4 separate regions of the Homo sapiens genome follow, and regions 1, 2 and 4 are each linked to region 3. Evidence: promoter capture Hi-C in 16 types of primary human blood cells and fetal thymus (Javierre and others, 2016). All regions are on one chromosome and are shown on one strand. Each heading gives the region's core, a stretch centred on a gene start or on the middle of the fragment in contact. The rest is flanking DNA. Distances are from core to core; before and after follow the strand shown. Region 1 overlaps MAP3K3 (mitogen-activated protein kinase kinase kinase 3). Region 2 holds the start of PRR29 (proline rich 29). Region 3 holds the start of PSMC5 (proteasome 26S subunit, ATPase 5). Region 4 overlaps MAP3K3 (mitogen-activated protein kinase kinase kinase 3).

Region 1 (2,700 bases), core at 123-2,622, 150 kb after region 3:
TTTTTTTTTTTTTTTTTAAATTGAGACAGGGTCTCACTATGTTGCTCAGGTTGGTCTGAGTAATGATATTATCTTGCATTTATGTGGTGCTTTACTTTTTGTTACACATTCACAGTAATTAACCTCATTTGATTTTCAACATCTCTACAACAGAGGTTTGGCAAATATTTTTTGAGTGGCTGCTAAGTGGCAATCATTCCACAAGGTATTTTTACATTTGTTACTTCACTTAATCCTTTCAACAATCCTGAGAGGTAAGCATTTGCTTTACTTAACAGAGGAGGAGACGGAGACTCAAGGAACTTAAATCTTAAAAAAAAAAAAAACCCAAAACACCCAAAAACAATTATTTATGTTTTACAGATAAGAGACTATAAAACCAATTAACAGGTACTTTCACCACATCAGCTTGTAAGATGAAATGGTTTATCATCCTAATGTTAGTGAATGACAGAGGTGTGCAGTCTTACAAATGACACACTTTGTAAGTCACTGAGCAATGTTTTTCTGCCATAAGGGATTTTGAGTCCGAGAAATCAGGTCCTCCTTCCTCCTAGCCCAAGAGCTTTTTCTGACTGGCTGTGTTGCTTTCCATGATCAGAGAAGACAAAAATGAGGCCAAAAGTTTGCATCTTTTTTCCTTCCTAAGCTCACCAAACCAGAAGAGCCAATTTTCAGAAGGTTTAAAAAAAGCTTTAACTATACCCACACAAATATTTCTTGTAGCTTCAAAACTTAAACGTAAGACTCTTATCCTGAACCCTTTTCCTGTTCTGAAGGGAACAAATTTATCCTGTTGTTTAGAAAACCAGAGACACAAGAGCCCTCCATTCCCTTATCTACCACCCCTTACCTCTCTCCCACGACCCAGCAATTCCCAGACACCAGGAATAGAGTAGTACCATCCCTCAACAATGCAGGTTACTTTCCTTGCTGGCTGGTTTCTCCAGTCTAGTTCAGGGGCTGTAGCACTAGGTTTTCTGAAATGGAACTGCAGGCAAGATGCTCTGTGGAAATGGCTAAGGAAGCAAGAGAGACCAAGTTTGGTAGCTGGAGACCTAGGGAAGTACCTGACTCATTCTATTCTGTTTTGTTGTTTTGTTTTGTTTCAGAGACAGGGTCTCACTCTGTTGCCCAGGCTAGTCTTGAGCTCCTGGGCTCAGGCAATCCTCCCCCTTCAGCTACAGGCAGGTGCCACCATGCCTGGCTTCTCTCCTTTCTTGATGATAGATCCCTAGTCCAGACCAGTTTTAGATGGAAAATCTGAGATACACAGTTTTAGTTTTATGTATGTGTGTGTGTATACATGTTTATACATATATGTATATATATTTCCTATTGCTCAAAAACTCATGTGTGGCCAGGTGCAGTGGCTCACACCTATTATCCCGACACTTCGAGAGGCAGGAGAAATGCTTGAGGCCAGGAGTTTGAGACCAGCATGGGCAACATGGTGAGACCCCATCTCTACAAAAAATATTTTAAAAATTAGCCAGGCGCACACTTGTGGACCCAGCTACTTGGAAGACTGAGACAGGAGGACTGCTTGAGCCTGGGAGGTTGAGGCCGCAGTGAGCCGTGTTTGGACCACTGCACTCCAGCATAGGTGATAGAGTGCGACCCTGTCTCATAGACAAAACAACAAAGCTCATGTGGAGCCAGGAGCACTCAGCCTGTACCTGGAAGTAGAGGTAGTGCACCAGGGACTAAGCATCTACAGCAGAGGGTGCTCAAGAGCCCAGTCCAGGGTCTTAGAACATCCCGGAAAAGAGGGTGGGCCTGACAGACTGATGGAGCTCAACAAACTCCCTGAGCCAGAGAGACTCCCACTATTTCAAAGACCCTCAGAAGGAAGAAAAATACTTAATGGAAAAAAAGAATGGCGGGGAGGCTTGCTCTGTGTGTGTGTGTGCACTTTTAGGAACAGGGTCTCGCTATGTTGCCTAGGCTGGTCTCAAGCCTTGGCCTCCCAAAGTGCTGGGATTAAAGGCATGGGCCCCCATGCCTGGCCAGAGGGTTGCTTTTTGAAAGACATTTTCTAAGAAGCTTAAACTATTGTTTTTCAATGACCTTTAAGAAACTGACACTGACTCTTTTTTTTGAGACGGAGTCTTGCTCTGTTGCCCAGGCTGGAGTGCAGTGGTACAATCTTGGCTCAAGGCAACCTCCGCCTCCTGGGTTCAAGCAATTTTCTGCCTCAGCCTCCTGAATAGCTGGGATTACAGGTGGCCGTCACCATACCCAGCTAATTCTTATATTTTTAGTAGAGACAGGGTTTCACCATGTTGGCCAGGCTGGTCTTGAACTCTTGTCTTCAGGTGATCTGCCTGTCTCAGCCTCCCAAAGTGCTGGGATTACAGGCGTCAGCCACTGCACCCAGTTGAAACTGACTCTTTAATTCTTCTATATTAAGTCAGTTGTTCAGAACATATGGTTCATGTGGTTGTGCTGAATACATTTTGAGAATTCACCACTGAACTGGTATTGGAGAATACTTCCAATCTCTTCTTGGACACATCACCCCAGCCTCCCTCCAAGGATGTCTCTCTGGCAGGAAAGCTAACATGGGGTCCTCAGTAATCTGGCCTCCCCACCTGACTCCAGAGCAAAGGCCAGAAACAAAATTGCTCTGAAAACAGGCATAGAATTTTGCTGGATTTCCTGTCTCAACATCTCACTCACAGGGTAGAGGCCACCAAT
Region 2 (2,700 bases), core at 43-2,542, 170 kb before region 3:
GCCTGGATGGGGGACACACCCTTCGCCTCCTCCAAGGGTCAAAATCCTACCTGGCTTTCAAGGGCTGGTTCTAAGATCCTCTGCTCCTCCAAGGAGCCTGTCCCCATCCCCCAACCCTATGTGCACTTGTGCTTTGTACCTCTCCATGTGCCATCACAGCCAACCTGGCTTTGTATCCCTAACCATTCATTTATTCATTCACTCGTTCAACAAATATCAGCTGAGCCCCTACACGGTGTCAGGCACCAGGCCAGACGCTCATGATGCATGGGGCAGGGTTACCAGGGTGCCTACCTTCCTGGAGCCTTAAGTCCAGTGGGGGAGGCACTACAGGGAAACCTCCTTGAAAACAAGACCTCGGTGGTCTGGACTTTGGGGGGTCTCTTCCCCGCCCCAACCTTTCATGGAGGCTGAAACATGACAGATGCCAAACAGCCCCAGCCAGAGAGACGGGCTGGCTTCCTGCTCCTCTGTCTCCCAGTTCTTTTCCCCCCTGAACAGGAACCCCAGGTGGATCCGCATCCCTGGACCCACAGGTGAGCGACCCCGGCGGCCCACCCACACGCACCTGAGGGCAGGGCGAGGCAGGCCGGGGCTGCAGCGCTCCAGCCACCAGGCGACTCAGCAGCAGCTGGTGCATCTGCGCGTTCTGCAGCATCATCAGTTCCAGCAGGTCTAGGAAGCGGGGTTCAGCAAGCCCACGCCGGGCCTCCGAGTCCCCCTCCCCCTGACACCCCTGTCCCGGGGGTGAAGAATGGGTTGGCGGGTTGTGCTGCGGGGACTCCCAGAGGATGTGCGAGGCAGAAGAGGGTGAGTGGTGGTGATGGTGGGGGTGGGGTGGGGGGACCCGGGAGTCTCACCTTCCTTCACGCGGCCTGGCTGCGGGGGCGCAGGTGGGACGGCCCACGAGAGGGGCTGCAGGAAGGTGACCCAGGGCTGGGGGTGTGCGCGGAGTCAGCCAGGTGGGGTGGGGGGAATGGATGGGGACACGTCGCGAGCCCCAACCCCCCCGGCCAGTGGCCTCCCTAACCCCGCAGGGGCCAGGTTCTCTCCTCCCCGCCCCGCGGCCTCCCTGCTCCCTGCCACGCCTCTTCCTCTCGGTTTGGGGCTGTCTCTCCTCGTCCCCCACCCCTCCAGGATCTGGCCCCTCCAGGGACAGCTCCCCACTCTGCCGTCTCCCAAGCTAAGGCAGGATCTGCTCCCGGGCTCAGCCCTCACCGTCGGGACTGCGCTCTGCGGTGGGGAGCGACCCCAGCTTCCGCCCGCCCCAGAGGCCATGGCTGGCGCCGGTTGCCTTGGCGACGCCGAGGACGCCAAGGTCTCTTCCCACGCATGCGCGGAGCCCGCCCGTGCTCCTGGGTCTTCCATCTCCCTGCTCCCTCCTGTCTCCTCCTCCGCGGACTTGGGGTCCCCAGGAGCCCTCCCCCGCCACCAGGAGGCCAGTCTCCTCCCCGGCATGTCCACCTCCCGCCGCGCTGCTCGGGGCTCCCCTCCCCTCCCCTTGCTGGTTCCCAGAACTGGGCCTGGGTTAGTGCGGGGAAGGGGGGTGTGTTTGTTGAGTGAATAAGCGAGTGACTGGGGAGGCTTGGTTTCGGGGTCCCAGAGCCCGATTGACTCAGCTGAAAAGTTCAGGAGAAACAGAGACTTTTGCAGGAGCAGGCTGGGGGCTAGGGCAGACGAGTGAGGAGGACAAAGGGTCTGTTCCCTGTCACTCTGACAGAGAGAGGGGCTTCCTGCCAGGAAAGAGTGGTTTCTGGAGCAGACCAAGGAAGGAAACACCGCCCGAATTCACGGAAGAGGCTGAGGACTCTGGCTGGAAACACGTGGCCGGCTTCTCGCCTCTCTCCTTGCGGCTATTTGCCCTGTTTCCTGGCCAAGGTGAGCCACTGCTCCTCAGACGAGGAAAATCGTGGTGACTTCAGCACCCGCGTCCCCAGTACTGTCTCCCGTACTGGAAAAGTTACCAAAGCACGCGTTCTTTTGACAGGAAGTTAGCAAGGTCTTCCTTGCTTAAGAACAGGTGAAGGGGGAGATCTATTTCTGCAGCTGTGACCATCCTAAGATAGGCCCCCGGCAGCAGTCAAGGAAAATCCAGACAGGAAGCTGGGCTTAGCACCCCGAGTAGCCCTTCCCCCACTCTCCATGTCAGCTCCCCTTCCTGCCAGTCCTGGAGTAAGAACCAGAAAGACCATTCCCACCTCCTCCTTTGCTCCGTAGTACCTGTCTCTAGGGGAGCAGGCTTGTGGGCATTACTTTACTGTCCCCATGGGTCTTATGGCTTCAACAGCCATTAACAAGCTGAGATCCAGGCACTGGGGTCACAGCCCCCCAGTGAGTAGAACACAGAGATGCCTCTCTCCATCTCCATTCTCATTCCAGGTAGAAAGAGAACAAGCCATTTTGCTCATCATCAACAAACCTTGACCAAGGAAGTGTCTGCGTGTGCAATGTGCCATCTGAACCCTGGAGGCATAAGCAGTATGGTCACTTGTCCCAGCATTGTTGGGAAGTGAAAATGTATCCATGGAAAGAGAGCAGAAAGATAAGACTACGCCCCGGGGATAATGAAAAAGAGAGGACTTGACCGCTGAGGGATGGAGTTCCAAGGAAGTCAGTCCTTGATGGGGCCAAGCAGCAGGGGAAGACGGGCGCTATCAGGCTGGGGACAGAGCCCAAGCCAAGACCCAGGTGTATGAATGG
Region 3 (2,753 bases), core at 175-2,674:
TCCAAAGTTAAACTACTAACAGCCTACCGTAACAGTATAACGTAACACTAACAGACTACTGTTTATGTTGTCTGTAAGGCTTACTACTGGAAGCCATACCTTACTGCTGGAAGCCTTACTGGTAACACAAACATTTGATTAACAACATAAACGGTCCTTTTTCTATGGTTTAGCGCTTTAGGCTAGGGCTCTGGGTTGCCCAATTTCTTTCATTCAGTCTCTATGGAATTAGCATTGTCCAGATCCCTCAATGATGCCCTTCCTCACATTCTCACTTCACCCTCACCCAACCTCTTGGTGATAAATTTCAACTCCTGAGCTTATGTTTCCCTTTTATAAGAATCCTTTTCATTCGGGCTTCTTCCAAAAGGGTTGACCTTTGGCTAGAGGTACCTTTACTATTAAGATTTGACTCGAAGATGTGTAACAAACTGTGAACACTAAGACCCTCAAAGAGATGGGACTGGAGGAGAACAAGAGATTGCTTACTTCTGATACATACACCCTACTAGCTAAGAAACAAACAAGAAAGGAGAAGCAGCAGCTTCTTCCACTGCACTCCCAAAGGAATTAGATGGATTTGTGGAAGTCCGTTTCCATCCCCCATCATCACCCTTCCTAGCTCCCTCTGGAGTCCGTCCTCACCTGGAGTTCTTCAATCTTGGACAGATAATATTGGCGGAGTCCGCTGCCTGCCTTCCCCTCCTCCAGCTCCATCTGAAGACACAGAGTGAGTCTTAAACGACAGGTTAAACATCCGAGGGGGTAAAGCCACTTGCAGGGCACTTTGAATAAGGCTTGACACCAGGTAGCTTTGCGTAGTAGAAAAAGTTTGGACTTCGGAGGCTCAGGATCTGGGTTCTAATCCCTCCCTCCCTTGGAACCCTCCATTTTCCCAGGACTAAAATAAAAGAATGGGAACGCCGCCTACCTCATACGACTTTTAGGAGGACCGAGAGGCGATATGATATAGACGGGGGGCGCTTTGCACTGCGTGAAGTGCTCTACAAGCCCGAGGTGTCAGTACTGACGAAGGAGCCAGCGGAACGGAGCCAAAGGACTGGCGTCCCGTCTCCTGCGACCCGTGGGCCGGCCATTCCCGCGCCCATCGCTTCCCTCACTCACTCCGCTTCTACCGCGTCTTCCTCTCCCAGCCTTGCCCTGACTCACCGAGGGCGGCGCTGACACAGCAGATCCGGTCGCAGGCAGCGTCCAGCATGGACTGGTCCAGGCACCTCCGACCCACCCGACGCTCCTGCCCCGGCCCGCTCTCCACTCAGATCACGCTCGCTCCGCACCCAGCCCCGTAACCTGCCGGGCCGCCACTGCACCCGCCATACCTGCTCTGGTCCGTCAAGCGCCATCTTCTCTCTTCAGCAGAGACCGCCGGCATCCGAGCCGTCTTGGCGCGCAAGCGCGGAAGCGGAGGATTGGGACCTGAAGACCAGGCAGAGAAGAATTCCGGGTCAATGGGCGGGGTGTGCGGCGAGACCACACTAAGGGAACCATGATGGGAGGGGCGGCTACTCGAGTTCAGGGGCTTTGGAAGGGGATGAGGAAGGAGTAGAACTCCTCCTCAGTGTTGCCTCATTGAAACTCTGTTTATAGTTCTTGTGATATGCCTTCCTAGTCTCAACTTTCAACTTACAAAACCCAAGGACAGAGTATTGAGAACAATCTAGGGCCACACTCAAAATGGCGGAAAACCTCGAGCCAGGGACGCAGGGGACGCAAGCGGAAGCGGAAGTAGTTAGCTGCATACTTGTGCGGTTCCAAGTGTGGAGAAAGCGGCTCTGGGTCTAGGTAGTGTGCGGAGAGGGGCGCGGGGTGGAATTGCTGCGGGAAGTGGGAAACTGGAAGTGGGAAACTGGAAGTGGAATCTGGTGCTCCGGAAAGAGACGTTCCCAACTTCTACTTTCTCCCCAGATTGAGGGATACTCCCCCTTTCCACCATGGGCAAGAAGGGCAAAGTTGGCAAGAGCCGACGAGACAAGTTTTATCACTTGGCGAAGGAGACGGGTGAGTCCGGATTCGCTCAGTCTGCGAGCGAGCGAGCGATCTCTGCCCGGTTCGCCTGCTCTTTGCGACCATTATGTACCTCTCCTGCAGAAGGGGTGGTCGGTTGCGAGGCCGGAGAAATCCTACTAGTGAAGCAGTTTGCGCACTTGGTTGTTTTGTCCAGGTTACCGTTCCCGATCTGCTTTCAAGCTGATCCAGCTCAATCGCCGCTTTCAGTTCCTGCAGAAAGCCCGAGCCTTGCTGGACCTGTGTGCTGCGCCAGGGGGATGGTTCGTAACACTCGCCACAGGTTGCTCCTGGTGGCCGCTTTCTGGGTTCTGAGCTGGGATGGCTTCCAGTTTCACTGCGGGAGGGGAACCCGAATCCCGGTCCTCTTGGGGGCCGTTTCCTTTCTTGATTGCAGAGAAAGGGCTTGGAATACGTGCCTATGATATGCTTTGGCCAGTACACGTAACACCAGGGATGAGAGATCAGTTGCCAAGAGGGGGAAAAGGATGGCTCTAGGTTTTTAAATTTCTGTTCCTTTTATAGGCTGCAGGTAGCTGCCAAGTTTATGCCTGTATCCAGCCTTATTGTGGGTGAGTAACGGACAGCTCTCCTTGGTGTTTTAAGGGGTGGGTGTATAAGGTATTTTGTCCTGTATTTCTCTCCTCCCTGCTTGAAGCAACCTTTTAGAATACTCTGACCTGATTTCTTCCAGGAGTGGACCTGGTTCCAATCAAGCCTCTCCCCAA
Region 4 (2,700 bases), core at 88-2,587, 190 kb after region 3:
AAGTGAATGAAAGGAAAAAAAAATACAACAAAAATTAAAATTTTATTTTTAAGCATGACTCTGGAAAGTTGTAGGAGATCAGTGGAAGAGACGATTATAAAGCAATCTTCTTACAAAATATAATGCCAGGCTTGTGTGTTGTTTTATATCTTATTTTCAAACTGGCCAGCCCATCTTATCAACAACCCTTGAAAGAGAAGGGAGGTCCTGAAGAGCCAGGTCTTTCACACTGAAAGCAAAAGACAGTCTGCTCAATCACTGACCCTGCTGGGGGAACAGATCCTGGAATTCTCTTCCTCTAGAAATGATAGCCAAGGCCCTGCCCTGCTTGTGCCTATCATGAAGAAAGCAGCTTTTCTGTTCTGAAGCACCCACTCATGAACATCTGGAGGGTTAGATCCAGAGCCCAGACTCTGTTCAAGTATCTACCTACCATTTTGATAAGATTCAAGGGAAACAGGAATCCATGGAAATAAGGATTCCATTTCTTCCTCCACTGGGATTTTCAGAAATTAGGCTAGCTTCAGAAATTTGCAAAGATCATCAGATAAACAGTAATGATAATCCCATAAAGAGAGAAAAACCTTAATCCTTTCAGTTCCACAACACTATGGACAGTTGTAGTTAGAAGCTTTCCCCAAAGCTCACACCTGCAGTGCCAGAACATAAGAAGTGACATAACCACTGCAACTTCACATTTGTACATTTGTTTTACAATGTACAAAATATTTCACATTCTGTCTATGATCTTACAACAATCTTAAGAGGTAGACACAGTGAGTATTAAGTCTATATTTCAGATGGAAAAACTCACTTCAGAAAGGTTATATGACTTATACATGGTAAAATTACGGTGACTAGGAATCAGAAGGCTTGGATTTACTTCCTGCCTCTACTCAATACCTTTGTGTAAAAGCTGTGTAAACCTTATACACATGCTTATAGCATTGATGTTAACTGTTGTTGAAAGCACTCTATAAATTATAAAATCCTACATTAATAGATGAGTAACAACTCTATGACTCCTAGGCCAGTACTCTTTTTTTTTTTTTTTTTTTGGTTGGTCTCAGTTTTTAATAGTGGCAGGGCCTCACACACTTGCACACGTGCGCATGCACGCACACACACTCTAAGGCTTCAGACCTTGTTGAAAGCTGCAACATCGACACTCTACACACGCTCTCAAACTTGGTAATCTCCTCTTCCAGAAAGTTTGTCCCCACCTTGTCGTCCCCCACCACACACTGAATCTGCAGCTTCCGGATACCGTAGCCCATGGGCACCAGCTTGGAGGCCCCCCTAGACCAGCCCGTCCAGCTGGATGAAGCGCATACAGGCCTCCAATTGGGCTATATTGGTCTCATTGTCCCAAGGCTTGATGTCCAGCGGGATGGAGGACTTGACCACCAACGCAGTCTTCTTGGCCTTCTTCTCCACATACCACCTCAGCCACTTCTCCCACAGCCGGGCTGCCTCCTTGTCTTCCTCCTCATTGTCGCTGACAAACAGGTCAATGTCATTGTCCTTGTCACCCTCTGCTAGTGTGGCTGCCTTCTTGGCTGGGGGCTCCACTTGGCACATGGGAGACACATGCTGGATCTGCGTGGCTGTGTCCCTGTGGCCAGGCAAGCTCTTCTCCAGCATGTTCAGCCACAGGCCAGCACTCTTTTCACTATACTAAGTTGTCAGACCCACAGAGAACTAACACCCATTGATAACTCACTGTGAGTTAATGACTGCTAAAGGGACACTGCACATCATGGCCTGCAAAACTATCCATAGGACCCAGCCACACGTAGGATGTGCCACACATCTAAGAATATTCAGTCAGCTCTAACCACGCTGTAGGCTTCCAGAGACCCAATATACAAAAGGGAGAATACAGCAAATGCTCCTAGTGTACAGTATTCTCTGTACTCCTAGAATACAGAGAATACAGAATCTACCTCCTAGAAAATTGTTAATAGCTCACTGCCCATGTACTTCCATAGCTGCCTATTTGTTCTCAAATCCATTCTCTTTTTCAATTACTTACCAAGCTTGTTTACTTAGGGAAAAGGATGTCTCAAGTCTTGCTAAGCAGAGATATTAAATTAGATTTTTCAGTTCTTCCAGGCCTCGGCACCCAAACAATCCTGTTAATGAACCCACAGCTCCTCTGGCTTTCCTTGCTGGGCCAAGCTTGAGCTCCATGAAGCTGTGCCAGTCTCGACTCTGCCTTGTAGCCAGCACTGCCATTCTCATAGTGAAAGGCTGTTTGCCTCTGCCAGCCCCATTCCACCCTTGAATAAACAACCTTTCCAGCTAGCCAAAATGCTTAGCTTCTTTCAACTGGGACTCTGTAATTTGAATCTGTAATCCAATTAGACATTTCTTAACCAAATTTGGCAACTCTTCACCATTTAAATTAGGTTTTGATCTTTCATTCCTCTCTCTTCCTAAGCATGGACTTTCTGGCAGAAGAACTGGTAATGAAGAAAACTGTTTCATTCTATCTCAGGCCTAGGCTAACAAAAACTACAATAATAATAATAAATGTGTAACTCTGTGAATTATAAAATCCGATGTTAAATGATTATTAATATCACCAGGCTCCTTTCATTATACTAGGCTATAAATACCTCTCCCCAACATCTTCCCCGCACTACCTCTTACCCTATCTTTCCTAGAAATGCATTTGCTGAGACTTTGTCTTTTTCT

Evidence for each region. The method cuts DNA at HindIII sites, captures the fragments that hold promoters and counts their contacts. A CHiCAGO score of 5 or more calls a contact.
Region 1: a contact is called between a fragment that was not itself captured here and the fragment with the promoter of PSMC5 in region 3, in 8 of 17 cell types (naive B cells, naive CD4 T cells, neutrophils and 5 more). The highest score is 7.7, in naive B cells.
Region 2: a contact is called between the fragment with the promoter of PRR29 here and the fragment with the promoter of PSMC5 in region 3, in 6 of 17 cell types (naive CD4 T cells, activated CD4 T cells, M1 macrophages and 3 more). The highest score is 7.3, in naive CD4 T cells.
Region 4: a contact is called between a fragment that was not itself captured here and the fragment with the promoter of PSMC5 in region 3, in 5 of 17 cell types (neutrophils, naive CD4 T cells, total CD8 T cells and 2 more). The highest score is 6.2, in neutrophils.

What each region holds. Positions count from the first base shown.
Region 1 is chr17:63,678,430-63,681,129 of GRCh38, reverse strand. The region is part of intron 6 of MAP3K3 (mitogen-activated protein kinase kinase kinase 3); the gene reads right to left. Among named protein-coding and RNA genes, the nearest start is that of LIMD2, 20 kb to the left of the region's middle. The HindIII fragment of the contact is 1,353 bases long and covers 696-2,048 here.
Region 2 is chr17:63,996,943-63,999,642 of GRCh38, reverse strand. PRR29 (proline rich 29) reads right to left here and starts at 1,292. Exons shown (of 6, transcript NM_001164257.2): 1 at 1,219-1,292; 2 at 861-936; 3 at 569-675. The coding sequence starts at 1,278. It overlaps PRR29-AS1 (PRR29 antisense RNA 1), which reads left to right. Exons shown (of 3, transcript NR_126169.1): 1 at 1-1,318; 2 at 1,721-1,878; 3 at 2,380-2,700. RefSeq lists an enhancer at 129-1,106 and a silencer at 1,360-1,409. The HindIII fragment of the contact is 13,369 bases long and covers 1-2,700 here.
Region 3 is chr17:63,826,102-63,828,854 of GRCh38, reverse strand. It overlaps PSMC5 (proteasome 26S subunit, ATPase 5), which reads right to left and starts at 1,424. Exons shown (of 12, transcript NM_002805.6): 1 at 1,341-1,424; 2 at 646-717. The coding sequence starts at 1,364. FTSJ3 (FtsJ RNA 2'-O-methyltransferase 3) reads left to right here and starts at 1,192. Exons shown (of 21, transcript NM_017647.4): 1 at 1,192-1,803; 2 at 1,927-2,019; 3 at 2,183-2,288; 4 at 2,551-2,597; 5 at 2,720-2,753. The coding sequence starts at 1,953. RefSeq lists enhancers at 1,034-1,083, 1,464-1,743, 880-2,079. The HindIII fragment of the contact is 8,506 bases long and covers 1-2,753 here.
Region 4 is chr17:63,635,551-63,638,250 of GRCh38, reverse strand. The region is part of intron 2 of MAP3K3 (mitogen-activated protein kinase kinase kinase 3); the gene reads right to left. It also overlaps the pseudogene EEF1DP7. Among named protein-coding and RNA genes, the nearest start is that of MAP3K3, 14 kb to the right of the region's middle. The HindIII fragment of the contact is 1,408 bases long and covers 634-2,041 here.